7 separate regions of the Homo sapiens genome follow, and regions 1, 2, 3, 4, 5 and 6 are each linked to region 7. The links are contacts of gene promoters, found by promoter capture Hi-C in blood cells and fetal thymus (Javierre and others, 2016). All regions are on one chromosome and are shown on one strand. Each heading gives the region's core, a stretch centred on a gene start or on the middle of the fragment in contact. The rest is flanking DNA. Distances are from core to core; before and after follow the strand shown. Region 1 has its middle 91 kb from the start of LINC02752. Region 2 overlaps GALNT18 (polypeptide N-acetylgalactosaminyltransferase 18). Region 3 has its middle 10 kb from the start of MIR4299. Region 4 has its middle 15 kb from the start of MIR8070. Region 5 overlaps LOC105376553 (a long non-coding RNA gene). Region 6 has its middle 71 kb from the start of LINC02752. Region 7 holds the start of CSNK2A3 (casein kinase 2 alpha 3).

Region 1 (3,380 bases), core at 708-3,207, 330 kb after region 7:
GAGGTACTCCTTGAGGTTTGGTCCTTGGACTCTTGAAGCAGGCAAGGCTGTGGACAACTGGTTTGAATGGGACAACTGCCAGAGAAAGTCCCATCAAGCTATGATGACCACAGAAAAGTTGACCAAAGACCATGGAGGGTGACCTGCAAGTGGACCAAGCCTGTCAATAGGATTTTGGGAACAGATCCCACAGATCTGGTACCATGCTGCCTCATTTTCTCCCAAGTGGGTCAGTGTTTGGAGTCTAGAAACAACATGTTTTAACAACTCAAAATTCTTCATTGGGTTGGGGCGTTATCAAAGCCAGTTACAGCCCATATCCTTTTTATCTGCCCCTCCTGTAAAAGGCAACCAAGCTCATGGATTCCTTGTAGTTGTCTGAACGTTTCCTTGGTCAGTGTTCCTTCTTTACTCCAAAAGACCCTTTACAACTAGAAATATAGGCCATTCTCTTGGGACCTCCTAATGGCTATTATCTAAAATTCTCCTGATGATACAGATACACACTCAAATATTAGAATAGCATAAACATTTTTCAGACTAGAGTTTCCAGTCTGTGCTTCTGGACAATGAGCAGCCAGATTAGACCCCTAATTCCTAAGCCTACCACTGGGCAGGACGGCAAGTGGTCACTATCAGAGAGGCATGGCAGCACCATACCAGATACAGAATAATAGTTGAAGAGCAGAACGCGAATGAGCAATTAAGTTGCCTCAGTTTGCCAGTAAATCTGAGAACAGACCAACTTTGCTGGGATATAGATTACAGCAGGTAGAAACTGATTTTGTCACCCTCTGGCAATTTAAGCCCCTGATCTTTCCCTCAATTCCTGCCCCATATCAGGGAGCTAGTCATGCCATTGGGCTTTTCATGCCAGTATTTCTCAAACTAAGCCCACTGGACATTTTCTCTGAGTTCATGAGATTCTGATATTGTTTTTTTAATTTGTTTTCATATTGATGAAAATATAAAAATAATCAATATTCATATCTTGTGGGTCAACTGAATGACCAACTCAAACCACAGAATTTCTATGTCCACATGTAGATTTGTGTTTATGACAGCATAAGGGTCAAATAGAACTGCTTTAATTCTCTCAGACTAGTGAAAAATGAGTGTGATGGACTTCAACACAAACAATGTGATCATTGACAAGTGAGGAACAAATGACCTCACAGCATCCTGTAGAAACAAAAGTGTCATGATATTTAGGATAGAGGAAGATGGAAGACACACTGAGTCATCATGCGGCATGCAGCACATTCAGCAGAGTCGTGGCCAACTCACACAAACCTGTGCCATAGCCCCAGGACCATATCCACATGGCAAGAAATGATTTTGTTTTAGCAAACCAACATCATTGATCCTATTAAAGATTAATCTTAATTCTATTGATTTTGTGGATTTGTTTGTATTTTATAAATTCATAAAAGCTTGTCTAAGCTTTTATGTTAAATGTTAATGTTTACACAGTATTGCTTATACTTAAATTTATACATGGGTTATGTTTTTAAGATTATACTTAGTTTAGCATCTGTGTATATTTAAATTAATTATGATAATAAAATTATTTGTCAGCATTGTTTTCTTCTAAAAAGAGACTATGCATCATTCAAGCTGGAAGCACTATTTATTATTCTCTGAATATTACATCATCAATTTCTCTAATACAGTGGCACTTGCCCCCCATTGGTCAATGGGTGTGTCTAATGTATTCTAATGGTTAGACTAACTTCTTTACTTTGTTCTGGCCTCCTTGTTCAAAATCCATGCTCCTGAAGAATGCTGAAATGATCAGTAGTGTTAAACAGGAGTAGAACATAAAGTCCTAGAAGGTTCTCAAGGCAAGTCCTCAAGGGCTAGCATTTTGTCAGAAGGGAAAAGCAGAAACCCAGCATCAGATCTAGGTAAGACTTAGTTGTACCCAGGCAGCAGGACAGTCCAATGCTCAACCCTGGGTTATCTTGATCTCCTCCCACCATAACCATTAAAAACAGGCCTGGAGGACCAAGCCTGCAGCTGAAAATCCACCGGCCCCAGTTGTGAAGTGGCAAAGGCTGAGAGGCAGGACCCAGACTGGTGAATTCACAGATCCATTGCTGGCCACAGAGAAAACAAATTATTTTAGATATAATTAAGTGTAGACAACAAAACACCAAGGCCATCCCAATAAAACATCACATTACTTCTGACTTGAGCTATACAAAAGAAGAGAAGCAAGATCCCGTTAGAAGAAATTGTTGACATATTAGAGCTTTGCCCTTAAGCCCCATCCATGGCCCTTTAAATGTGACCAGCATGTATATGGACAGCGCTGGGATCTGAGGAGGGGATGCCACCTGGGACAGAATGACAGTCAAGGTTAGTAATGCTCGCTCTGGGCCACTGCCTAGAACAGTTCCTGCCTGTCCTGAAGCAAATACCCACAAAATCCAAGAGAGCTATATGAACGAAGGAGGTAGACAAGCTTTTATATGCAGACACACTTGGTTTATATTAAATACATACACATACTTTTTAATCCCACAAAGAACTGTGCTTTCTGCCATTTTTCTTGAAACATACAACCCCTTTTGGGCTACCTTTCATGGGTTTTCATTGTTACTAAAGACATGGATACACACAAATACTTTTATATCATAAGGGAAACAATAGTGCAAGGGTGCTGCAAAGGATAAGGGACACACAGTTTAAAGTTAAGAGATGGTGTGCTGAACTCAGCAGCACTCGGTCTGAAAATTGCAGGCCCTGCCCAGGCCTGCTGAAGCCACTGTATATGCCTTGCTAAGGCAAACATCAGTTCTTCTCAGCATTAATTCCAGGTGCCTACAAAGGGAGCAGAGGATGAAATGATGTTCAAAGGACATTCATCCTTTGGATTTGGGCCAACCATTCTCCAGTGTAACCAGTTTGCTGCTGGGCATCTTTTTCTGTAATACATTTATTAATTAACAACCTATATCAGATCATAGAAGTAGATTCCCAACGCAGAATACCATTACGTGTCTGGGTACACATAATGATGCCATTCCCACATCTTGGCCAACAGCCCACACTGACACGGCCCTGCTGATGTGGGTATAACACATTCTATTAAATGAAAAACCTAACATAATGGCAGCTATTAATACCTTCTAATATTAATAGGCAGCATTAATCTTATGCAATAGAATCTGTCCACTTACCAAGCACTTCGTTTCACAGCTTTTCCCAATTTCTTTAAGTGTCCTCCCACCACCCTGATCACTATCTGCTGGACACTCTCTGATTTGTCATAACTACCAAGGTGAGGGCTGGAGGGGCCACCAATGCACTAACAGCACATAAAAAGTAACCTCAATTGGGACTCTAAAGCTCTCTTATTCTCTCAGCTACATCCA
Region 2 (3,695 bases), core at 725-3,224, 260 kb before region 7:
TTTCTGTCTCCTATAGCTTATGGATGTTACTTAGAATTGGCTCGTGTTCTTCTCATCTGAGCTTTGACTTGGCAGCGTTTGTGAAGAAGAGGATATGATGTTTGCTGAGTGCATGGAGTTTATTTGAGGAAAGAGTGTCATTTAAATAGTAAAGCTATTTGTCCTCTGGAATGAACTGTTGCATGTGAAATTATATTAGTAACAGTGATTGACATTTTGAGAGAGTTCAATAGCAGGACTTAGGAGTTGAGCCTAATTACCTTTGTTACTAGTTCAGAACCACAGCTTTATGAAGAAGAAAAGCCTTGCCAAAGGACACAACTTTTCCCCGTGACCAAAGAATCTTCATTTTTAGCCAGAAGTGTGTAGGCTGTAAAATAAATGAATTCCACATTCTTTCCCACTCACTTGACATAAATTGTTATTTTCCCTTGATAAGTAGGTTGGTGGAGAATCTCAAGGAGAATTCAGAATGAAAAGTGTCAGAGAGCCACGTCTGGTTTTGTCATTTATGAGGGCCTTGAAGTTCAGCTTTAGTCACTTGGGTTAGGCTGGCCTATGTTTTCCCAAAGGTATTTATGGGATTCAGAGTCACAAACAGGGTTACTGGAGCGTCTTCATTACCATCGTATAGGATTTCTGACCTCACTTCACTTGAATAGCTGAATGTGCTTGATATGCTTGAATGTTTGTACCCTCCAAATCTCATGTTGAAATGTGGTCCCCAGTGTTTGAGGTGGGGCCTAGTGGGAGGTGTTTGTATGAATGGCTTGGTGCTGTCTTCCTGGTAATGAATGAGTTCTTGCTGTATTTGTTCATTCAAGAGCTGGTTGTTTAAAGAGCCTTGCTGCTCCTCCTCCCTCCTCCTCCTCCTCCTCCTCCTCCTCCTCCTCTTCTTCTTCTTCTCCTCACTCTCTTGCCTCTCTCTCTCACCCCTCTCTCACTATGTGACATACCTGCTTCCCTGTTACCTTCTGCTGTGATTGTAAGCTTCCTGGAGTCTCCCCAGGAGCCTAGCAGATGCTGGACTTCGAACAGCTTGCAGAACTATGAGCCAAATTATAAATTTATAATTTTATAAATTACCAAGCCTCAGGTACTCCTTTATAGCAATGCAAAATGGACTAATACAAAGCTATTGTCTTGATTTGGGTCTTGAGGGTCTCCTTTGGTTTGTGGCAGAAAGCCAAGCTTGGCTTTTTGTTAGCTGGGTTCTATCTGGGAGATGGGGACAGACAGGCTGCCCTGTGGAGAAGCACATTGCCAAGCAGTACAGCTGGAGGTGATGTTACACAGAAAGTTCCTGGAGGGAAAACCCGGCTGAATGTGAGTGATAAATGTAACCAGAAGGCAGCATGGTGGGCTTTGGGGAGAGATGGAATTATGCATGAAGCGGAAGGGCAGAAGCCATACAAGTTGGATGACACTCAAGTCAGGAGCAAGAGGCAGAGTGACTGAGGTCCACTGGTGGCTAAGCCACCATCAATGAATGGTGGACCATGCTGTTTATGCTGGCCTGGAATGTCTCTTGAAGGGTGGAGCTTCTGCCTTGGATTTGGCAGGGATGTGGTCATTTCATGGCTCCTACAATTGTTATTGAATCTCACTTGCCTTTGGGGTTAGAGTCAGCTCCATCTGTAATGCAATGCTTGAGCCCAGGGGTCCTTGATGTTTCCCCCTTCCTCACACATAGGCCTACATACAAGGCATGTGCCCTAGGGCAGGGCTAGGAGGATGCACCTCCTAACACATTGCATTCATTCTTACTCCACCCTTTATTTTCCTACTTGAGAAGGCATATTAGTATGCAAGGGAATGTAACAACCTTGAAATCCCTTTAATTTATTAGAGTTAAAGCTAATCATTCATAAGCTTTGGTACTTAAATTATTGTTACTCACTAATTACCTCACAACTGCTCCACAGCACAGTATGTTGTGGCAGTGATTGGGAATGACTGCTGTTCTGGAATCTTCTCTGTGGATCTGTATACCTTTTATAGATCCCCTGTAGTTCCAGTGCAGCCAACTGGAACTTTAAGCAAGAGGATTCCTTGTTATATGAACACTTAAGCTTTGGTGGTTTTTCTGACTACACGATTATGGATTAAAATATGTTGCTAGACAGTTCGTCCCAGTGGGGATGCAGTACTGAGATGTAGTTCTCTTTCACTGCCTGACATTCAATTTCAGTTTTTGGAAGGTTTATTTTTGGGAGATGAAGCTGTCCTTAATGATGCTAGTGGAAACCCCTGAGTGTCCAGCCACCATAAACATTCAGTGGCTTCCCTTATGGAGCCACTGCTAAAATGGTTTTAGAACCAACAGGCATACTTTGCTGGGCTACTTTCCATTGCCACCATCCTTTAAGAGCTCACAGAAATACAGTGTTTGGGAAGATCCAGAGAAGTGGCATCTGCACTCTTCACCTTGGGACAGGTGAGAACAATGAAAAATGATGCCTACAAGGAGGCTTGTGGCCAGTTCTTTAGCGTGAATAGGTTCATTCTACAAATGCACTGAGTTTAAGTCTCAGAGCAGAGTTCCCTGATTAAGATTGTTGAGTGCTGCATCTTAACAAGCTCTGGTGCTTTGTTGGGCTTCGCCAGTCTGACTTGTGCATCCATCTCTGTCCCCTGGGAACTTGGAGTTAAAGGCCATTGAGATCCCAGAGGAGCAGGAAGGTAATTCAGGGACTCTGGCAAGACAGGATTCGAAGCTTGGCTTAATAAATGTTGTGCTAGCGGCATCTGGGGATTTAGGAGAACAGTACCAAAATTGCTTAGGCCAATGGATATGAGAGTTAGAAAGCTAAGGAGAGATTTGAAGCGACAAATGAGAATCCTAGCTAAACCCTTGATTTATTTTAAGAGCAACAGGCATATAGAGAATTAAAGATTGATTGTATCAAGGGAATGGAGGAAGAGAGCTACAGTATGCTAGCAGGTCAGGGACTGGCCCAGGTGCTGCCCAGGCATGATTACTTATTTATTTATTTCAATGAACAAATAAAATTGTAATTTTTAAAATTAGTGATTCCTTTTCATCTTCACAACATGGTAAGATTACCTTTTTTCTTACCTTTTTAGAGGTAAGAAAATGAAGACTTAGAGTTTGTTCAAGGTAGGTCACAGGGCTGATGGGTGGTAGAGCCAAGAAGGGAAACTGGCTACAAAACCAATGCTCTCTACAGAATAGGAAGGAGGATGAATGTTTCTCGTAGAGAGGAATGGGAGATCATCTTATCAAACATGGTGTTTGAGTGTAAGCTCAGAGGCCTCAGGTCAAATGGGAGGCCAGGCAGGGGCTTGGTTTACATTTGTGTCTACAAGGAACCTGGAGGGTAGGGTGGGCAGCAGTAGAAGGCCCTGGTCTGGAAGGGTGAGGGAGCAGCCACCACAAAGCTGTGGACAGCCTTTTCTCCTAGGTCACTGTGGGGCCTCCAGGAACTGGTCCTTGTCAAAAAAGCGGAGTGTTCCAGCTGCAGACTAGAGCTCTTTCAGATTCATTGTGACTTCTGAGCACCCAAAATGTCCCAGGCACCGGGCTGAGTGCTTTCCTGTGCCCTGGCATAGTCACGTGTCTTTCAGGGTGACCAGCTTATCCTGATGTGCCTTACACTTTCCCTGTTTTAAAACTGAAAGTCCCAGGTCCAGGGAAGCACCCAATTCCCTGGGCAAGCCTGGATGGTTGGTCA
Region 3 (3,705 bases), core at 19-2,518, 310 kb before region 7:
GCATTTCTCCTTGCTCTTCTGCCCACAGGTGAAAAGAAGAAAGATGTTTTTATTTTCCATCTCATGACAGCCTGGGCACCCAGCTTTTCTCCCCTTCCTCTTGTTTCCAGTTCTGCCCATCTCCACACTATAGCCAGCCAGCACCCTCTGTGGGCTCAGATGTACAAGGGAGATAAGCTGGAGAGCTGAAACAAGCAAGCCAGCACGCAAAACCAACAAGAATAGCAGTGGGCACCATCCACGAGCTGCCAGCTAACTGCATGCTTTATCTTGTTAGCTCCTCAGACAACCCTATTGTCCTCATTTTACACGAGAAGATTCTAAAGCTCAGTGGTACAGCCCATAAGTAACTTGTCTGAGACCACACCTACAGGAGTGGGTACAGCCAGAATTGAAATCCAGGCAGTGGGACTTCAGTGCCAGTGCTTTTAACACCTACTGTCTCACCCTATTTATTGTGCAGGAAGTGAATCAAGGATGGAAAAAGAGCCCACAGTGGGTACCTTAGGAGCAGGTTACTGCTGTGGACAGTTGGAGCTAAAGGCAGAGACTTAGAGGGGACAATCAGAGAAGTGGGAGAGCCAGAAGGGAGTGATTCAAGCGTGAGGACGACCTGTGTCAAATGCTCAGAAGGGTTGAATATAATTCTTTCTTATATATCTTTAATCTAAGCCCAAGCTGTCATGGCAATGGATCCATTCTCTATCTGTGTCCCAGGCCTGTTCCCTGATTGCATAGAGGCCACTGACCCTCCTCTCCAAGCTTCTCTAGCCCCAAGAATCCAAACTCCTCCCATCTACCTCTTACATACTGGTTCCTGAATGGGAACTCTCTTAGAAGGTCTGATTCTCCATCTTCTCCCTGGATCCAGCTCTCCTGTTCTCTTATTTACAGAGTCTGGCCTCTGACTGTACTGCCAGCACATGCCTATTCCCCAGTTTCTGTCTCTCCTTCCTCCCTTCCATAACATGAGTAGAAAAGGGATCTTAACTCCTTTTTTAAAGTAATGTTTTCTACCACAACCAACTGGGGTGTGGTTGGCTGAAAATAGCTCCCCCAAAAGATATCTAATCCCCAGGACCTAAGAATGTTATATGGCAAAAATCGGGGGAGGGGGATGTCTTTGCAGGTGTGATTAAGTTAAGGATTTGGGGATGGAGGATTATCCTAGATTATCTGGGTGGGTCTGAAATGCAATCACATGTATTCTTACAAGAGGAAGGCAGAGGGAGATGTGACATCCTCTGGTGTCAAAGGTGGAGAAGTGAAGGAGATGGGAAGACGGAGCAGAGAGAGATTTGGGGATGTTAACCCAAGATTGGAGTGATGTGGCCATCAGCCAAGGAATGCTAGCAGCCAAGGAAGTAGTAGGAGAAGCTAAGGAGTAGATTTTCTCCTAGACCTCTGGAGGGAGCTCTGCTAACACCCTGATTCTGGCCCAGTGATGCTGACTATGAACTTGCAACCTCCAGAACTGCGAGAGCATAAATTTCTGTTCTTTTGGGCTACCGAGTTTGTGATAATTTACTTCAACAACCACACACATGAAAAAATGAATACATGAGCATCACCAGTATACATCTGCAGATTAAAGGCTACCATCATTTAAAAGTTCTTGGACCCCTTATTTACAATGCCTAGGGGTGGGATAAGTATAAGGGAGTAACTCAAAATTCAAACCCATTGTTTTAGGTAGGCAGTGTTTTCCTAACATTCCCTCAAACTTCCCATCTCCATCCCTCCATGCTCAAGGCATTAAAGACCGGAAGCTTCACCTACGGGATATGAGAAGAGCTTGCTGAACTTGTTCATTTGTTCCTTCTCAAGGATCCTTGCATTTTAAAAGGAGTCCCACCTCCACATCTCTGCAAAATTCCGTCTTTAATCTTGTGCTTTCCCTAGGCTCCGTAGGTACCCATGCGGAGAAAGAGCAGTGAATGCACCATGTGAACTCTACAGCCCTAAACAATTCTAAGGCATAACAAATATGAAGGCTGTTTCTGTTGTTCCCTTTCAAATATGCCCAGATATTATATTTTTTGAATGGTCGAAAGCACAGTTCTCACACTAACACATTTCTGCACAACAATGAGAAGATATATATTCTTTCCCATAGGATTCAAGAGAGCTATTTTCATTTTGAATGTGAAAAAATAAATTCATAAATATTTAATAACCCTCCAAACCCCCCGTGTTAGTCTGTGCAAAAAATAAAAATGTAGCTCTCCATTGGTTTAGGACACAAATATCAGCAGCATTATTTGTGCATCAGAGACGTCCTCTTTGTCCCAACAATGGAACTTCCTTTACTACCTTCCTTCTTTATCCAGCTTTTGGTTGTCCTATATTCTGAAGAATCATTTCTTCAAAAAGATCTCAGAATTTTTTTGTGTGTTCTTTTGCTCTTGAATTTCTGCTGGCCGCTCTGAGAAGTTTGGGTCTGGCTCTGGGCTGATAGTTGGTGGCTGTACTAAGTCAGGCATCTGTAAGGCTCCAGGTTTCTCAGCTCTGTCCCCTGAGCTCACGTGGTTGCAAGTGATACATTTTGGGAAGTATTTGTTAGTGGATGCAACATTTTAATGGAAATGCCTAAAATGCCAGTGTAACAGTAGCCCACCTGCTAGGAGAAGGAATTCATTACCACCCAATCTCTGGCAGTGCATACTAAATCTGTTTGATGCAAGACAGGCAAGCCCCAAAATTGGGACTTAGCCTGGGAGGGTTGTTGGCTTCACCCAGGAAAGAATTCAAGGGCCAGCGGGTGGTGTTAGACAGCAACTTTTGTTGAAGCAGCAGTGTATGGCAGCAGAGGTACTGCTCCTTGTGGAGTGGTGCTACTCCATAGGCAGTGTGCCAAGAATAGCAGCTCAGAGGCAGTTTTGCAGTCATATTTATACCCACTTTTAATATATGAAGACCAAGGGGTAGTTTTGTGGAAATTTCTAGGATGAGGGTGGTAACTTCCAGGTCACTGGGTCATTGCTGTGGAAAGGGGCAGTAACTTATGGATGTTGCCATGACAATAGTAATCTGACATGGCACACTGGTGGGTGTGTCTTATGGAAAACTGCTTTCAGCCTGATCCTGTTTTAGCTATTCCTCAGTTTGGTCCCATGTCCGAGCCCTGCCTCCAGAGTAGAGTCCTGCCTCCTGTGTCACCTTCATACTGAAGGAGCACTTAGAGCAAAAGTCTACCCAGTGAGGACAGCATTCTGGGAGCTTCCATCACTGCCTCCCCATCCCTCAAGCCACAGGCATTATTTTTCTTTTCCACAGCTGGGAAGTTTTTCCTGTCACCTTGGTGTGAATTCACTATCCAGGAGCTCACCTTGGAAGTGTATCACTTCTCACTCCTGAGAAAGGTCAGGAGGACCATTTGCCAGGGGTCTCTTCAACCCATGGGTCTCACACACAGGGGCAGTTCCTGGCTGGAGGTAAGGAGCAGAGGCTTCTTCCAGCAGGACTTATTTTGCCAGAATTTGGGGACCGATGGCATTGCAGAGCAGAGAAGCTGAGACTGAGAGAAGCCTTACCTCCTGGGCCCCCAGATGAAAAAAAAAAAAATCTTGTTTTCCTCATGCTCAATAATGGAGGAGGACACCAGAAGTTGCCTGTAAAAACTAGGTATTTGACACAGTTGTTGAGGCTGAGAAACACCTAACCTTGGGCAAAAAGGAGAGTAAGCTACAGTTTCCTTGGTACATG
Region 4 (3,450 bases), core at 442-2,941, 420 kb before region 7:
TGAACCTTCTGTAGAAACAGGCTGGGCAAAATCTGTAGGCTCTTTGCTACCTGTTTTGGCCTCACTCAGCTCCTCTTATCTGCAGATTTGGGACCTCATAAAGCCTCCAGCCATTCCTGATCAGGACATAGCTTACAACAGCAGCCTGGTGCCCATAACCTGGACAGCCTGGAGTGAAGTCACACTCCCAGACTTGATGTTCTAATGACAAGAATGAACTCTGACTATTTGAGTGCCCCACAGTCCTGGGACTTCCTGACTCAGGATGAGACTTTGCCAAACTGGGCATTTGCTACCATCTCTGCCCTGTGGTGGCCTGCTGATTATGTCTTGCATTATACTTTCTCTCTCTATGAATGGGTTCTAACTTGAACTCTATCTCTGTGGTTGGGACTTACACTCAGGTCAGTTTCTTTCTTCCATGCTGGGATGGTGGTGGGGAAGTGCTGAAATCTACTACCTGAACTCAGTCCTCTCAAGTTACTGGTTGAGGTCCTGCTAAGAATGAATGCATCACTTGAATTGGCATCACCTGCCTGTATGTATATACATCTCTCCAAATACCTGAGCTCTTCCCTTTTCAGTACTCCATCATCACCTGTCTTCTGTCTCCCACCCACTGCACCCTACCAGTAGCCTTGCCTTGCCTAAATCAGTGCAGAACAAACTGTACCTGTCAGACTTTGTGTCTTGAGCCATCCAGTTGTCTTTGCTGGAACCAGCCTCTTCAGCTGAGCTAGTTGAAATTCAATAAGCATTCATGGATCTTCTGTTATGTGCTAGGGGACAGAGAGCCAAGTATGCCTCAGTTCCTACTTCTAGGAGTCCACAGCATTGCCTAGAAAAATGTCCCTCTGCTGGCTGGTGCACATCACTCATGGCCCACTGTGTATCACATCTAAGTCCGTATTCCAGCGTGGCAGAATTTCTCACAGCTGGAGGCAAGACTGAATGCAATGTAGGATGAAATCTTCTTGTTAGTTCAGGCAGAAGCAACACTGGGGTTGAAATTCTCCAAGTAATATTTCCATTTGTCTGGGGGAAATCGATGGAGCTTTTCTGCTTACAAAGGTGGAGGGAGTTGGTCAGATCACTGGATAGTCATAGTCTGATAGAAATATGCAATAATGTTAATATAAGATTTATTCTATGTGTGCCGATAACTTAGGGACGGCCTTGAAGGCTGTGAATTTTTGATGGTTTGTTGCTTTAGGCAAAACCAGTGCGTAACCTAACAGTGATGACAATGATAATGATAAAGTTGGAAAGAAAGTTAAGAAAAAAAAAGGGCATTCATTGTGCTTCTGACACGTTCCAGTCCTTGTGGAAATGGAATCATCCAATACTAGGAGTATTTCCCATCTACAAATCTCAAAGACCCTGGGCATGGATAGGATGGTATTTCTTGTAAGGGATATTAGAAAGATTTTTAAAACCACCTCCAGCTTAAATTTTTCCTCTTACTTGGAAAAGCTATAAGCTTTTCATGCTATAAGCTGCCTTTCTTTACAGAACTATTAAATTATCCTTCAGATACAGTTAAATTTTATGGCCAAAATGTAGAAGATAAATTGGGAGGTAAACACATTACTGTATTCATTAAAACATGCACTCCATAAAACTGATTCTACTCTTCAAAAACATTTATTCCATCAGCACTGGGAATGGCTGAAAGTGATGGGGAGTACGTATTAGGAAAGGCTACCACATGGTAACACAAAATAAGGAGTTAATATATCCAGTTCTTGTTCTTTGTACTGAGATCCCTCAGTTTCTCTACAGGGATTGACCAAGCTAATGATGTGTAAGAGATGCCACTGGTTGACATAGACACAAAGTGTCCTGGACACCTCTGAAGGAAGGCATGCTAATTTGAACAGATCCTTTCACCATCAAGCTTAAAAAATGGCAGCAAACACTGGGCTCTGTGGACTCAAGGTTATTTTAAACCAAAAGTATATCATCAACATAGCTTGCAAACAGTAACTTTCAGTCCCAGAGGACTCCGCAGGCATTGCTAAGGTGCTTTACTGGTAGAAGTCCTCTGATTTCATTTTCACTCTGGATACCAGTTTCATATTTAAGGTCTGTAAGCAGCAGTAAGGGGCTTCTGTATGGAGTATTTTCTCTGCAACTGATAGTCCAAGACTGTCTGTAATGAACAATACAATTTTCAGGCCAGAGGGGTGGACTGGAAGCTGCTGAGATAGGATTCTAAGGACCTGGATAAAAGGAATCCATTCATTTGGCTAAGGAAATCTGTCACTTCAGAAAAATTAGTGATATTTTCCAAATCACATCAATGCCAAGGAGCTAACAGAACTTCTTGGACATAAAATAGTCATATTTTTCAGAGAAACTTGATTGCTATTTGGAATTCTATTGTTACCTTGTTCAGTCTCTCTCATGTATTAATAAATGCTTTTGGTAGTAGAAACATTCCTTGTAATGTAAGAATTTAGGTTCCAACCAAAAGAATACATATGAGTCTGGAAACCAATTAGAGTCTTTCTCCTCAGGAAAGTTTATACACAGTGAGCCCCCAAGAAAGTGTAGATCTGTCTCGGGAAGGTCTAGAGCCAGGAAATCTCACAGTGAAGCCAAATGGTGGCTCATTCAGCTGCAGTGACTCTTCTGGTCTTTTCCATAGGAACTTCTTTCACTGCAGACCAGCCGGTAGCTTTTCAGCAACTGAAAAGCTCAAGACTCCCTCCAGCACTGCCATCTTCATTTAGTATCCTTAGGGACCAGCCCATCCAGAGGCAGGACCTTGACTGTTCTCTATGTATTCTTGTGTTTTTGTTTTTGACTGTTTGATTCCATCTACGTAAACAACTTTTTAAAATTGACAAATAAAAAGTATGTATGTTTGTGGTATACAACATGCTATTTCGATATAGGTATCTATTATGAAATGACTAAATCAAGCTAATTACCATATCCATCACCTGACATCCTTATCATTTGTGTAATGAGAATTTTTTTCTTTTTTTTTTTTTTTTGAGACGGAGTCTCGCTCTGTTGCCCAGGCTGGAGTGCGGTGGCGCGATCTCGGCTCACTGCAAGCTTCGCCTCCCAGGTTCATGCCATTCTCCTGCCTCAGCCTCCCAAGTAGCTGGGACTACAGGCGCCCGCCACTACGCCCAGCTAATTTTTTTGTATTTTTTTTTAGTAGAGACGGGGTTTCACCGTGTTAGCCAGGATGGTCTCAATCTCCTGATCTCGTGATCCGCCCATCCCGGCCTCCCAAAGTGCTGGGATTACAGGCGTGAGCCACCGCGCCCAGCCTGTAATGAGAATATTTAAAATCTACTCTCCTAGCAATTTTCAAGTAACAATAATTAACTATAGTCACCATGCTGTACAACAGATCTCTAAAACTTATTCCTCCTATTTAACTGAAACTTGTACTTTTTGACCAGCATCTCCCCAAACCCCCACCCTCCAGTC
Region 5 (3,583 bases), core at 470-2,969, 290 kb before region 7:
GGTTTGGCAACCCTTTCATGAAGATGTCCCAGAATGTGTGTCATTGGGTGTCACTTATTCTCTGATCCTTCCATTCATTCATCCAACAATTAAGCACCTATTTGTGCAAGGTGAGGCAGCTCCATCTTTCTAAGCTTTCCTGTTAGGTAGGAAGGAAGTGCAATCCAGGCTTTTCAAATCATGGACGTCAGAGAATGTCTGAGTTGGAAGGACATTTAGAAACTATGACTCAATAGCCTTCCTTTCACAAACAAGGAAACAAAAGCCTAAAGAGATGAAGTGATTTGCCTAAAATCACATGGCTGAACTGGGAATGTCAGAACTGGGACTGGAGTCAATTTTCCAGTTTTCCAGCCCAGTTCTGCCTTCTCCCTCCATTATCTACCATATTCTATTAACTGCTTTGGAAACAAAACTGTAATGAGCCCTAAATTATTTTCTCCTTTAGCACAAAGAATTTTTAATTGGGGAAGGATGTGCCCAAATTTGTGATGAGAAACAATGAACACAGCCTCAGTGGAATTACTGGGCCATGGCCCATTGTTTCAGCAAAGGCATCCTATAAGGGAAGGAAAAAGAAGATGAGGAAGGAGAGAATGCAGACCTTCTTTGTTCTCAAACCTTTTGTCTCTCTATTAGGCTGTGTTTGTTTGCCAAACATGAGCCTGGCAAATTGCATGCCCCAAGTAATCCCGACCATCTACTCCGACTCCTCAATACTGAGCTTGGCAGCTGATAGCTCAGCCTGTTGCATTGCCAAGCTGGATGAATAGACCTCAGCCAAGTTCTGGCTGTGAAAAGAGGCCTTGGGTACAAGGGCCCCATGCTTTTTGTGATCCAGTGGGGACAGGTCACTGCCTGGCTTATTTGTCTTCAAACCAGGCCAACCCACTCCACACCACGTGGGACCAAAACGAGAGGCCAGCCTCATAGCAGCAATAGGGCAATTGCCTTTGACCTCTCTCTTCACTCCCGCTCTGGTGTTGTACTCTCTACCCCAATCTGGTTTCTACCAGCTCCCCAAATTTTTAGCTTCTAAAAGCTTGTCTCCTATTCCTAGCTCCATCAAGTTAATACTTTAACTTATCCACCAGATTTATTTGGCTTAACTCTTGGTTCTTCCCTGAGTGATGGATTATACTTATCTTTCAGCTCCTCCCACTCCTGGTCACTTTGGGTTAAAACCCAGGCCAATTTTCATGAGATCTGGTCCCCAGAAACTCCTTTTCTTTACCCCAGGGAGTGAATTACTTGAGTGGGCTTGTTCCTATTGGCTTGCCTTAGTTTTCTACATCTAAGCCATTGTGCCTGTCTCTAGGACTCACTGAGTGCTCTCCTCCAGAAACTGCCTGCATCTGCCACTCTTATGTTCACCTCCTCGTCTTCCTGTCTTTATGCTTCACTTTCAGAACCTGCTTTGGCTGTCTTCCTCATCTTGGTTCTCCCACCATAGCAACTTACCAGCTCTGGGCTCTGATTTGGCATCACTGGTACCATTAGATAAGAGACCTCCCCCTCATCTCCAGTAGATCCCTTACTTACTGGGTGAAATCTCAGCTCCTTCATTCCCATGCCTTGGTTCCACTACCAAGGAAGAAATATTTAGAAATGACCAGTGGTTTTCCTGCGGTACTTTTAGCTGAATGTTTTGAATCTCTTGTATACACTGGAATTTGAAATTAACCACAGACTCCTATGGTTAAGAACAGCTGAAAGATCAAGCCTAAACATTTCTCAAATTGTGGTTCTGTGACCATCTCCATCAGAGTCCCTTATTAAAAATATAGATTCCAGGCCATCACCTCAGATCAAATGAATTAGAAACTTGGTGGGGGCTGTAGGGGGAGATTATTAGATTGATTATTAGATACCAGAAAATTTGATAACTATTGATTTAATTTATCTCCCAGGTTTCAGTTGGTATCTTATTTAAGCTATCCATAGCAACCCCTCTGGTCTAGGTGGTTCTTGAAAAAGGGAGATTTCAGAAGCCACCAGACTATTAAAGAAACATTGATATTATGTGTATTCACTATATTAAAAAATCAGTAAGTTTATTAGAAATCTTTCTTACATAGACTTCTGAGTAGGCCCAGTGGGGGATACTAGTTGACTAAAACACTCAGACTAGCTATAATTCTAAAGTAAAGGCACATATTTTCATTTGCATCTCAGGGAAACAAAGACAGTATGGGGACAGCTCACAAAAAGTCTCCACCTTGTCAGAGTGGAGCCGTCAACTTTGGCAGGTAAGTCTGTTCTGATGGTTGTGATAAGTGAAAGTACATGTGGTGAAGAAAAAGTGGGTCATCATTTTGAGATCCAAAAATTGACATAAAATTGTACGTGAAGGTAAATCTCTGTGAGAGATAATTATCAAATTAACAGAAGCTTATGGAGAGGAAATAAAGTCAAAATACGTAAAGATGATAGGGAAGATAGCTGGAGTGCTGGAAGGATCTGTATAGAACCATAGATTTCTGACTGGAAGGGGCCTCAAAAATCACATTGATGGAGAGTTTCAAATTCTTTTAAGCTCTTGGACTCTTCTATCAAACAAAATCTTATGCAGAAAGCTAACATGTAAAACAAATACAGAGTTGCTGTGGTTGGGGAGAATGAGAGAGAGACAGAGAGAACATGTTAATTAGGATAGGCTAGGTTATGTGCAGTAACAAACAATCCAAACATTTTATCAGCTGTTATAACAACAAAGACTTTTCCAGTTCATGCTGTATGTCTATCATGGACGGACTCGGTCAACTCTACAGTTCCCTGCTTCGGGTCCCAAGCTGATGGAGCAGCTCCCATTTTGATCACTGATGGTTACCATGATGAAAGAAAAGTACAACTCTGACAAATGTTGCATTGGCAATTAAATGCTCCAGTTTAAAAAAAGTGACACAGAGTACTTCTACCCAGGTTGCCCTGGTCAACATCAGTCACATGGCCCTACATAACCACAAAGAGGCCAAGAAGCGCAATCCTACCATATGCCCAGAAGCTATTTCCTACTGAAAATATTTAGTGAACACCACTGTTGACTAGCATTGTGTGTGTGTGTGTGTGTGTGTGTGTGTGTGTGTGTGTGTGTGAGCTTTCACTCATGCCCAGTGTTATCCCTAGGTACCTGCAAGGAACTCTTAGGCTCCATGAAAACTGATTTGGAAACTACTAAATTAGCTCCCTTATTTCATAAATGAAGAAAACTGAGGTCAATTTACTTACTTAAGGTAAGATAATATCAAAACCTAGGCCAGAATGTAGGTTTTCTTTGCTCTCAGTCCAAGGCTCCTCCCATTTTTGCTCTGAATGTGGTGTGTGTGTGTGTGTGTGTGTGTGTGTGAGAGAGAGGGAGAGAGAGAGAGAGAGAGAGACAGAGAGAGAGAGAGAGAGAGAGAGAGTGGTGACTCAAGAGTTAAATGTAGATGAAGAATAGACTGGTTCTGAAGGGAAATGTGAACCTGAGGAAATTTTCCGTGAAGGCTCCCCATGCATTCCAAGTGACAAATAGATGCAGTAAAGACATTATATTTGTTCTGATTACCCAAAGGATGCTGGGCAACATAAAGAGTTTCTGAAG
Region 6 (3,280 bases), core at 530-3,029, 310 kb after region 7:
ACCACTGTGTTCTCACAGACTCGTTGGCTCCCCTGAGCTCTATCATGTTAATCTAGGTCATATGACTGGGCTTCTGCCTCTGTTTCCTGCCTAGCATGTCAATTATCTGCCGGAACTGGCTGTGCCCTGAGCCTCGGTCTCCGAGGCTGCAGCATGGCTCCTGGCCTAGCTCTTGCCATCATTTTCTCTGGGTTCCAGGATATGCCTCCTGTGCTCTGCTGTTACCACCCACTTGACACAGATGCAATGCCAACACACAAGAGGGGCTCATTAAAGGGCCATTCTGATCCTCTCCGGGCTCCCTGCTTTCCTGAGATGCCTGCTGCCCCTCCCCATAGGCCCCTGCACCAGATGATGCCAGCCTGCACCAGGCTTATTTCATTGGGGTACCTGGCAGCCACCACAGGAACTGGTCCAGTAACCCTGCCAAGCTCCAGTCTGATCAGTCCTGGCACCTCTCCTGCCCACAGGCCTGGTCCTGCTGTACCTCCACAGTCCTCCTACCAAGTTATCACTCTAGCTGTGCTAGAGAAGAAGAGGCAGGTAGGATCCTCCTCTTAAAGCATTTTAGGGACTATAACTGGCCCCTCAGGAAAGAGAGTTAAATCTTTGAGCTCTGAGGCTGTACCCCGGCAGCCCCTCCCACCTAGTTCCAGGGCCTAAGGCTCTCCTGGCCAAGCCAGTGAAGAGGCTTGTCCATCATGGCTCTACCAAGGGCTGAGGGGAGGTAGCAGGTGAGGTCTGCAGGCAGAGATTCCTGAAAGAGCCCAGGAGCACCAGCTGAGATGACCTGGGGAGTCCTCCCTTGGAACAGGGTTCTGCCAGGGACTGGTTACACAGAGTGAGCTGCATCCACCTCCCCCAGGCTGGAGCAGAGTGGGAAGGTGTTGGGGACAGGAGAGTGGGCAGGAAGTTAGCAAGACCCAGGGAGGGCTTGTGTACGAAGCTGCCCTTCCTGCCTCCCGCTGACCCAGCCCCTCCTCTCAGCCCAGGGCAGCTAGGTTAGAAGCAATAATTCCCCAGGAAGGGGAAGGATGAAACAACACCCAGGAATCCAGTATCACAGCCAGCATTATCTGAGAGAAGGCTGGAGAGGAGCACAGTACAGGGAAGGAGGCATGCTTCTGAGAGGCCAAGGTGGCATCACCAAGATGAAAATGGCCGCCTCTTACGGAGCAGTTTCCCAAGGCCTGGCACTGGGCTAGGAGGTTTCCAGACCTTACTTCACCCTGACCGCAACTCTTCTTGGCAGGCATACCATCCTCATTTTACAGTTGAGGGAAGGGAGGTTCTGAGAACGACCTCTCTAAGGCAGCACAAAAAGTGATGGGGTCAGAATTCAGCATTGCTCTGCCTGCCTCTGAGAGCAGCAAGACATGACCTCCCTAGAAAACATGTCCAAGAGGAAGGCAGGGAGTGGAGCCAGCCCAGGGAGGCAGGGCTGGCAGCATGGAGATGAGCAGATGGATCTGAGCAGTGTGTACCAGGCAGGCCTCCCCACGGAGGCCACTGCCTTGGGTGTGGCATGGGAGGGCAGGAGACAGAGAAACCCCAGGTCCCCAAGATAACTGGGGCAGAGGGACCAGTAGGTGGCCAGCCTCTAAGCAGGGGTATCCCGTGAGCGCTGCCACCCAAAAGCAGTGCCTGAGACCAGCTGTTTGGGATGTCAAGTGTCCGGCTTTGATCTCCATCCTCCTTCTTTCCTCTCCTGTTATCTTTCTCTTCTAGAATGTTCTCCCTCCTCCTGGTGCCCTGAGTTCCTGGAACATAATCCAGACTCTGAATCCTCCTTTTGGCAGCATTTCATCAATTAATCTTTCATCCACACTGATCCCCTGAAAAATGACTTCCTCATTATCCATCTTGCAGTTTCCACTTGGCAGCCTGAATGGTAAAGCATCTGTCAAGTTCAGATTCTCTATGGTGCAGTGGGAAGAGCCAGGGCTTTGGGATCAAACCGACCCGAGAAGAGGCCCAGCTCTACCACTCTCCAGCTGTGTGCCCTTGGGTGAGTCACTTGACTTCTCTGAGCCTCAGTTTCCCCATTTGTAAACAGGTTGAAAGCACACGCTTCATGGGGTTATTGAGAAGACCAAATGACACAATTCATCTGAGATTTTTTGCAAACTGCTATACAGGTGTAAAGCCTGTTTTGATTATTACTGTTTTTCACTGGTTCCCAGGTGGACTGAAGCTGATCTCCAGCTTGTAGGCCTCAGAGAGGCAAAGCTAAGATCACAGGCTTAAGAGGTATCCTCAAATGCTCCTCGTCACCCCACTGGCCAAAGAAGTCACAGCATGCCCTGCAAGGCAAAAGCCCAGATATGACTGAGGCTCAAAGTGAAAGCCAAAATATAGGGGGCTCATCTCAGCTGCAGAAATATAGAAGTATGAAAAAAATGTGCAACCTTGCTCATGATAGAAAAATGAAGATTAAAACTATATCGAGACTTGATTTCTCATCAGCCAATCAGCTAAAATCCAAGTTAGACAACAAATTCTATTGGTGAAACTCAGGGGGAACAGGCATTCTTTACATTGCTGATGGGAATGCAAAAGGTACAGCTCCTATGGAGGAGAATTTGGCAATATCTAGAAAAACTACGTACTTATTCATCTTTTAAGCTAGAATCCCACATCTAGGAGTCAAAGGAACACTTGTAAAACACAAAAGGATAAAAAAGTAAAGGAACATTTATTCATTGCAGCAGTATTTATAAAAGCAAAAACTGGAAATCACCCAAACACCCTCATCCAAAGGGGACTGGTTCATTATATGATGGTGGGTCCGTGTGAAGGGGCATGAGGCACCTGTGGAAAGCAACAAAGATCTCTAAGTAATACTGTGGAGTGTTTGCTACAACAGGGTAAGTGAGGAAAGCAAGCTGGAATACAGTGTATACAGTATTATTTTACCATTTATCTAAGCAAGAGGGGATATGTATACCTATTTGCCTATAGTTTTCAAAAAAACCCACAATGAAAGGAGAGTTGGACTCTTTATGCCCGTCTTCCATTCATAGGCCACCCCTTGGCTCCATCCAGCCACTACTATAGCTGTAGGTGTACTATAGCTGTGCACACTTGCAGCCTGACACAGCCCCTTCCTTGCCCAAGCTGCACTGTATATATCTCCTGCAGGTTTCTCTGAGATGTCTCAGCCACTGCTGACAACCTCTTTGGCTTATGAGCACACTTGGAAGTCCAAGGGCGTTAACACCCCCAGGGCAATCCTTGATCAACAGGGAACAAGAACACACAGGGGCAGAGGATCAATACT
Region 7 (3,781 bases), core at 614-3,113:
GGATTGAAGGGCAACACGACAACGCAGAAAGACCAGGGAAGAGGCTCTGGATGGAGATGCCCACACAAAAATAATAGGGACTTGGACCAGGATGTTGGCTGTGCAGATGGAGAGAAGTGATTAAATTCAAGCTATATTTAGGAGGTAGAACTGTCTGCTTTTGCCGATGTATTGGATGTGGAGAGGGAGGAAGAAGACATTGCTACAGATGAATTACAGGTTACAGGCTTCGGCTATTAGATGGATGAGGGGCAGACTAAGGGACAGATGGGGAGGCAGGGAAGAAAATCGGGAACTTCGTTTTGGACATGGTAAGGTTGAGATGCCTGAGACACATGAGAGTGAAGGTGAGACGTAGGCACTTGGGTATATAAATCTTGAGCTCAGAGGAATGTAGTGTGTTTTCCCCTGTCCCGAAAAGCTGTGGTATAGCAATAGTGAATCTTATCATCAGTGGAATATTATAGTGATAATAATTATAGCTGATACTTAGGGGCCTCTAAACTTCTTCCAGGTGATGAAATAAACTGTCTCTGTGTATTACTTCATTTAATTCTCACAGCAACTATCTTTGGAATTTATCACTTTTATCTCCATTTCATAGACAAGGAAACTGAGTGTTGGAAGGTGAAGTGAATTGCCTAAAGTCACCAGTTCAGCAAATGGGAAATGTAGGACTTGACACCAAGACTGTTTGGCCCCAGAGGCTATGCTCTGAACCATAATGACTTCCTGTCTTCCAAAAGGCAGGCTCTTGGATCCATATCTTACTGTGCTTCTAAATTATCCTGTGACCCTGAACCTTAGTTTGCTCACCTGGGAAATGAAGGGAGGTCCTGGTTAGGTTCCCTTCAGTTCTACTCTATTGCAGTATGCTGATCTCTTTTGTAAATCTGTATTAAATGAGAGTTTGCTATCGGTGACTTTCAGAGATGACACCAGTGATGATGCCCATGCTGACGATTCATTCTGATGTCTATGAAAAGAGCAAATCCTTTAAGAGAAGATGTAGCATACCAGTGTTTATAATCTGAGTTTCATTTGATTAAGAGGGGAAGCTCTTTAGAACAAATATCATTTCTGAGCGAGAGAATGTTCAGCATCTCAGCCTCATTTGTATCATTTGATAAAAGGGCCCCACTGAGCCAAGTGTGAGGATGATGCTTGAGCCAGACACATAGACACCAGACATTCCTCTGATGTCTGCTCCCCAGGCTTGGCCACATTGCCTCCCACCAACCCCATCTCAATGACACATCCATTACCTGCCATCAGTTGGCTCTATGGTGCTGGGAATGACAGAGTGTATCTACCCTGGATTTCAGAAAGAACCCTCCTGGCTTATCATGGCAACACCCTTTGGACACTCGTTTAAAGAGTCCTTCTTTGGGCCAGTGTTATCCTTTTGGGGGCATCTGGTATGGACGGCCAATTTGAATCTGACTGGGACATGCTAATGAGCCATTCATATGTGTGGGATTTGTTTCTGATTCGATTAAGCTTCAGAGAGAGGAAAGAAACAGCCACTGATTAGAGACATAAAAAAAGAAATACTTTAAGTGAGTAAGTGGTTCATCTTCATATAGGAAAGTATAAATTAAACATGGTCCAGGAGATGTGCTTTGAATAGCAGCTGGATAGCACAAGCATGTCCACAAGGAGACGGTGCCTCACAGCAATTGAAAGGGACTTAACCCCCAAAAAGGGCTCTGAATATGCTGAGTAAATAGATGAGCCCAGTTAGCTGATAAAAATGACTCTCAGATTAGAGATGGGAAGGTTTTTATTTGGATTTTAGAAAATTGCTCCCCACTCCATCGCCGCCATATTGTCTGTGTGAGCAGAAGGGAGAGCGGCCACAGCCGCTGCCGCTTCCACCACAGTGTGAAGAAAACAGGTCTGAAACAAGGTCTTACCCCCAAGCTGCTTCTGAACACAGTGACTGCCAGATCTCCAAACATCAAGTCCAGCTTTGTCCGCCAACCTGTCTGACATGTCGGGACCCGTGCCAAGCAGGGCCAGAGTTTACACAGATGTTAATACACACAGACCTCGAGAATACTGGGATTACGAGTCACATGTGGTGGAATGGGGAAATCAAGATGACTACCAGCTGGTTCGAAAATTAGGCCGAGGTAAATACAGTGAAGTATTTGAAGCCATCAACATCACAAATAATGAAAAAGTTGTTGTTAAAATTCTCAAGCCAGTAAAAAAGAAGAAAATTAAGCGTGAAATAAAGATTTTGGAGAATTTGAGAGGAGGTCCCAACATCATCACACTGGCAGACATTGTAAAAGACCCTGTGTCACGAACCCCCGCCTTGGTTTTTGAACACGTAAACAACACAGACTTCAAGCAATTGTACCAGACGTTAACAGACTATGATATTCGATTTTACATGTATGAGATTCTGAAGGCCCTGGATTATTGTCACAGCATGGGAATTATGCACAGAGATGTCAAGCCCCATAATGTCATGATTGATCATGAGCACAGAAAGCTACGACTAATAGACTGGGGTTTGGCTGAGTTTTATCATCCTGGCCAAGAATATAATGTCCGAGTTGCTTCCCGATACTTCAAAGGTCCTGAGCTACTTGTAGACTATCAGATGTACGATTATAGTTTGGATATGTGGAGATTGGGTTGTATGCTGGCAAGTATGATCTTTCGGAAGGAGCCATTTTTCCATGGACGTGACAATTATGATCAGTTGGTGAGGATAGCCAAGTTTCTGGGGACAGAAGATTTATATGGCTATATTGACAAATACAACATTGAATTAGATCCACGTTTCAATGATATCTTGGGCAGACACTCTCGAAAGCGATGGGAACGCTTTGTCCACAGTGAAAATCAGCACCTTGTCAGCCCTGAGGCCTTGGATTTCCTGGACAAACTGCTGCGATATGACCACCAGTCACGGCTTACTGCAAGAGAGGCCATGGAGCACCCCTATTTCTACACTGTTGTGAAGGACCAGGCTCGAATGGGTTCATCTAGCATGCCAGGGGGCAGTACGCCCGTCAGCAGCGCCAATGTGATGTCAGGGATTTCTTCAGTGCCAACTCCTTCACCCCTTGGACCTCTGGCAGGCTCACCAGTGATTGCTGCTGCCAACCCCCTTGGGATGCCTGTTCCAGCTGCCACTGGCGCTCAGCAGTAACGGCCCTATCTGTCTCCTGATGCCTGAGCAGAGGTGGGGGAGTCCACCCCCTCCTTGATGCAGCTTGCGCCTGGCGGGGAGGGGTGAAACACTTCAGAAGCAACGTGTCTGAACCGTTGCTTGTGGATTTATAGTAGTTCAGTCATAAAAAAAAATTATAATAGGCTGAAAAAAAAAAAAAAGAAAATTGCTCCCCAAATCCCTATGACATTTAAGCTCATTGTCATTCTCTGGCAGCACCAGTGACAGTAATGGGGGCCAGAGATCCTATTTCAAAACAAAGAAGTGATTACAGTAGATAGCGCAGGTGTCAATGGGACCCTGATTTGGAACTTGCTAATACTTCTGTCTCTGAGTTTGGGGCTTCTATAGGGTTTTGGTTCCATAGATATGCCTGGACTTGAACTAGCTTACCTTCCCAGCCTTGTGCATCGGGAAGCTGTGAGGGTCAGATCCTTCTAGATTTTGTGTCCCCTTACAAGGGTTGGAAGAGTCTGGCTGCAGCCCTGGCCTCACCAGCTGGCTCCCTCTTGCGTAAGTGGAGTTGCCACAGGGCTTCTGTCTGTGGCTTTCCAAGGAACCTGGAGCTGTATGTCATCTTCAAACCTGGAC

Evidence for each region. Contacts are between HindIII fragments. The CHiCAGO score rates a contact against its expected background, and 5 or more counts as called.
Region 1: a contact is called between a fragment that was not itself captured here and the fragment with the promoter of CSNK2A3 in region 7, in 1 of 17 cell types (M2 macrophages). The highest score is 6.9, in M2 macrophages.
Region 2: a fragment that was not itself captured here is called in contact with the fragment with the promoter of CSNK2A3 in region 7 in 1 of 17 cell types (endothelial precursors); the score reaches 6.5 in endothelial precursors.
Region 3: a contact is called between a fragment that was not itself captured here and the fragment with the promoter of CSNK2A3 in region 7, in 1 of 17 cell types (endothelial precursors). The highest score is 7.4, in endothelial precursors.
Region 4: a fragment that was not itself captured here is called in contact with the fragment with the promoter of CSNK2A3 in region 7 in 1 of 17 cell types (endothelial precursors); the score reaches 6.3 in endothelial precursors.
Region 5: a fragment that was not itself captured here is called in contact with the fragment with the promoter of CSNK2A3 in region 7 in 1 of 17 cell types (endothelial precursors); the score reaches 6.4 in endothelial precursors.
Region 6: a contact is called between a fragment that was not itself captured here and the fragment with the promoter of CSNK2A3 in region 7, in 1 of 17 cell types (M2 macrophages). The highest score is 6.4, in M2 macrophages.

What each region holds. Positions count from the first base shown.
Region 1 is chr11:11,023,130-11,026,509 of GRCh38, reverse strand. No RefSeq gene overlaps it. Among named protein-coding and RNA genes, the nearest start is that of LINC02752, 91 kb to the left of the region's middle. The HindIII fragment of the contact is 1,024 bases long and covers 1,446-2,469 here.
Region 2 is chr11:11,611,561-11,615,255 of GRCh38, reverse strand. All of the region lies in intron 1 of GALNT18 (polypeptide N-acetylgalactosaminyltransferase 18), which reads left to right. Among named protein-coding and RNA genes, the nearest start is that of GALNT18, 8.6 kb to the left of the region's middle. RefSeq lists an enhancer at 1,503-1,672. The HindIII fragment of the contact is 200 bases long and covers 1,875-2,074 here.
Region 3 is chr11:11,664,958-11,668,662 of GRCh38, reverse strand. No RefSeq gene overlaps it. Among named protein-coding and RNA genes, the nearest start is that of MIR4299, 10 kb to the right of the region's middle. The HindIII fragment of the contact is 1,007 bases long and covers 765-1,771 here.
Region 4 is chr11:11,766,801-11,770,250 of GRCh38, reverse strand. No RefSeq gene overlaps it. Among named protein-coding and RNA genes, the nearest start is that of MIR8070, 15 kb to the left of the region's middle. The HindIII fragment of the contact is 417 bases long and covers 1,483-1,899 here.
Region 5 is chr11:11,638,420-11,642,002 of GRCh38, reverse strand. LOC105376553 (a long non-coding RNA gene) reads left to right here. Exons shown (of 4, transcript XR_931034.3): 3 at 2,176-2,249. Among named protein-coding and RNA genes, the nearest start is that of MIR4299, 17 kb to the left of the region's middle. The HindIII fragment of the contact is 1,349 bases long and covers 1,045-2,393 here.
Region 6 is chr11:11,042,499-11,045,778 of GRCh38, reverse strand. No RefSeq gene overlaps it. Among named protein-coding and RNA genes, the nearest start is that of LINC02752, 71 kb to the left of the region's middle. The HindIII fragment of the contact is 5,094 bases long and covers 1-3,280 here.
Region 7 is chr11:11,351,332-11,355,112 of GRCh38, reverse strand. It overlaps CSNK2A3 (casein kinase 2 alpha 3), which reads left to right and starts at 1,863. Exons shown (of 1, transcript NM_001256686.2): 1 at 1,863-3,171. The coding sequence starts at 1,994. The coding sequence ends at 3,169. All of the region lies in intron 6 of GALNT18 (polypeptide N-acetylgalactosaminyltransferase 18), which reads left to right. The HindIII fragment of the contact is 3,495 bases long and covers 1,503-3,781 here.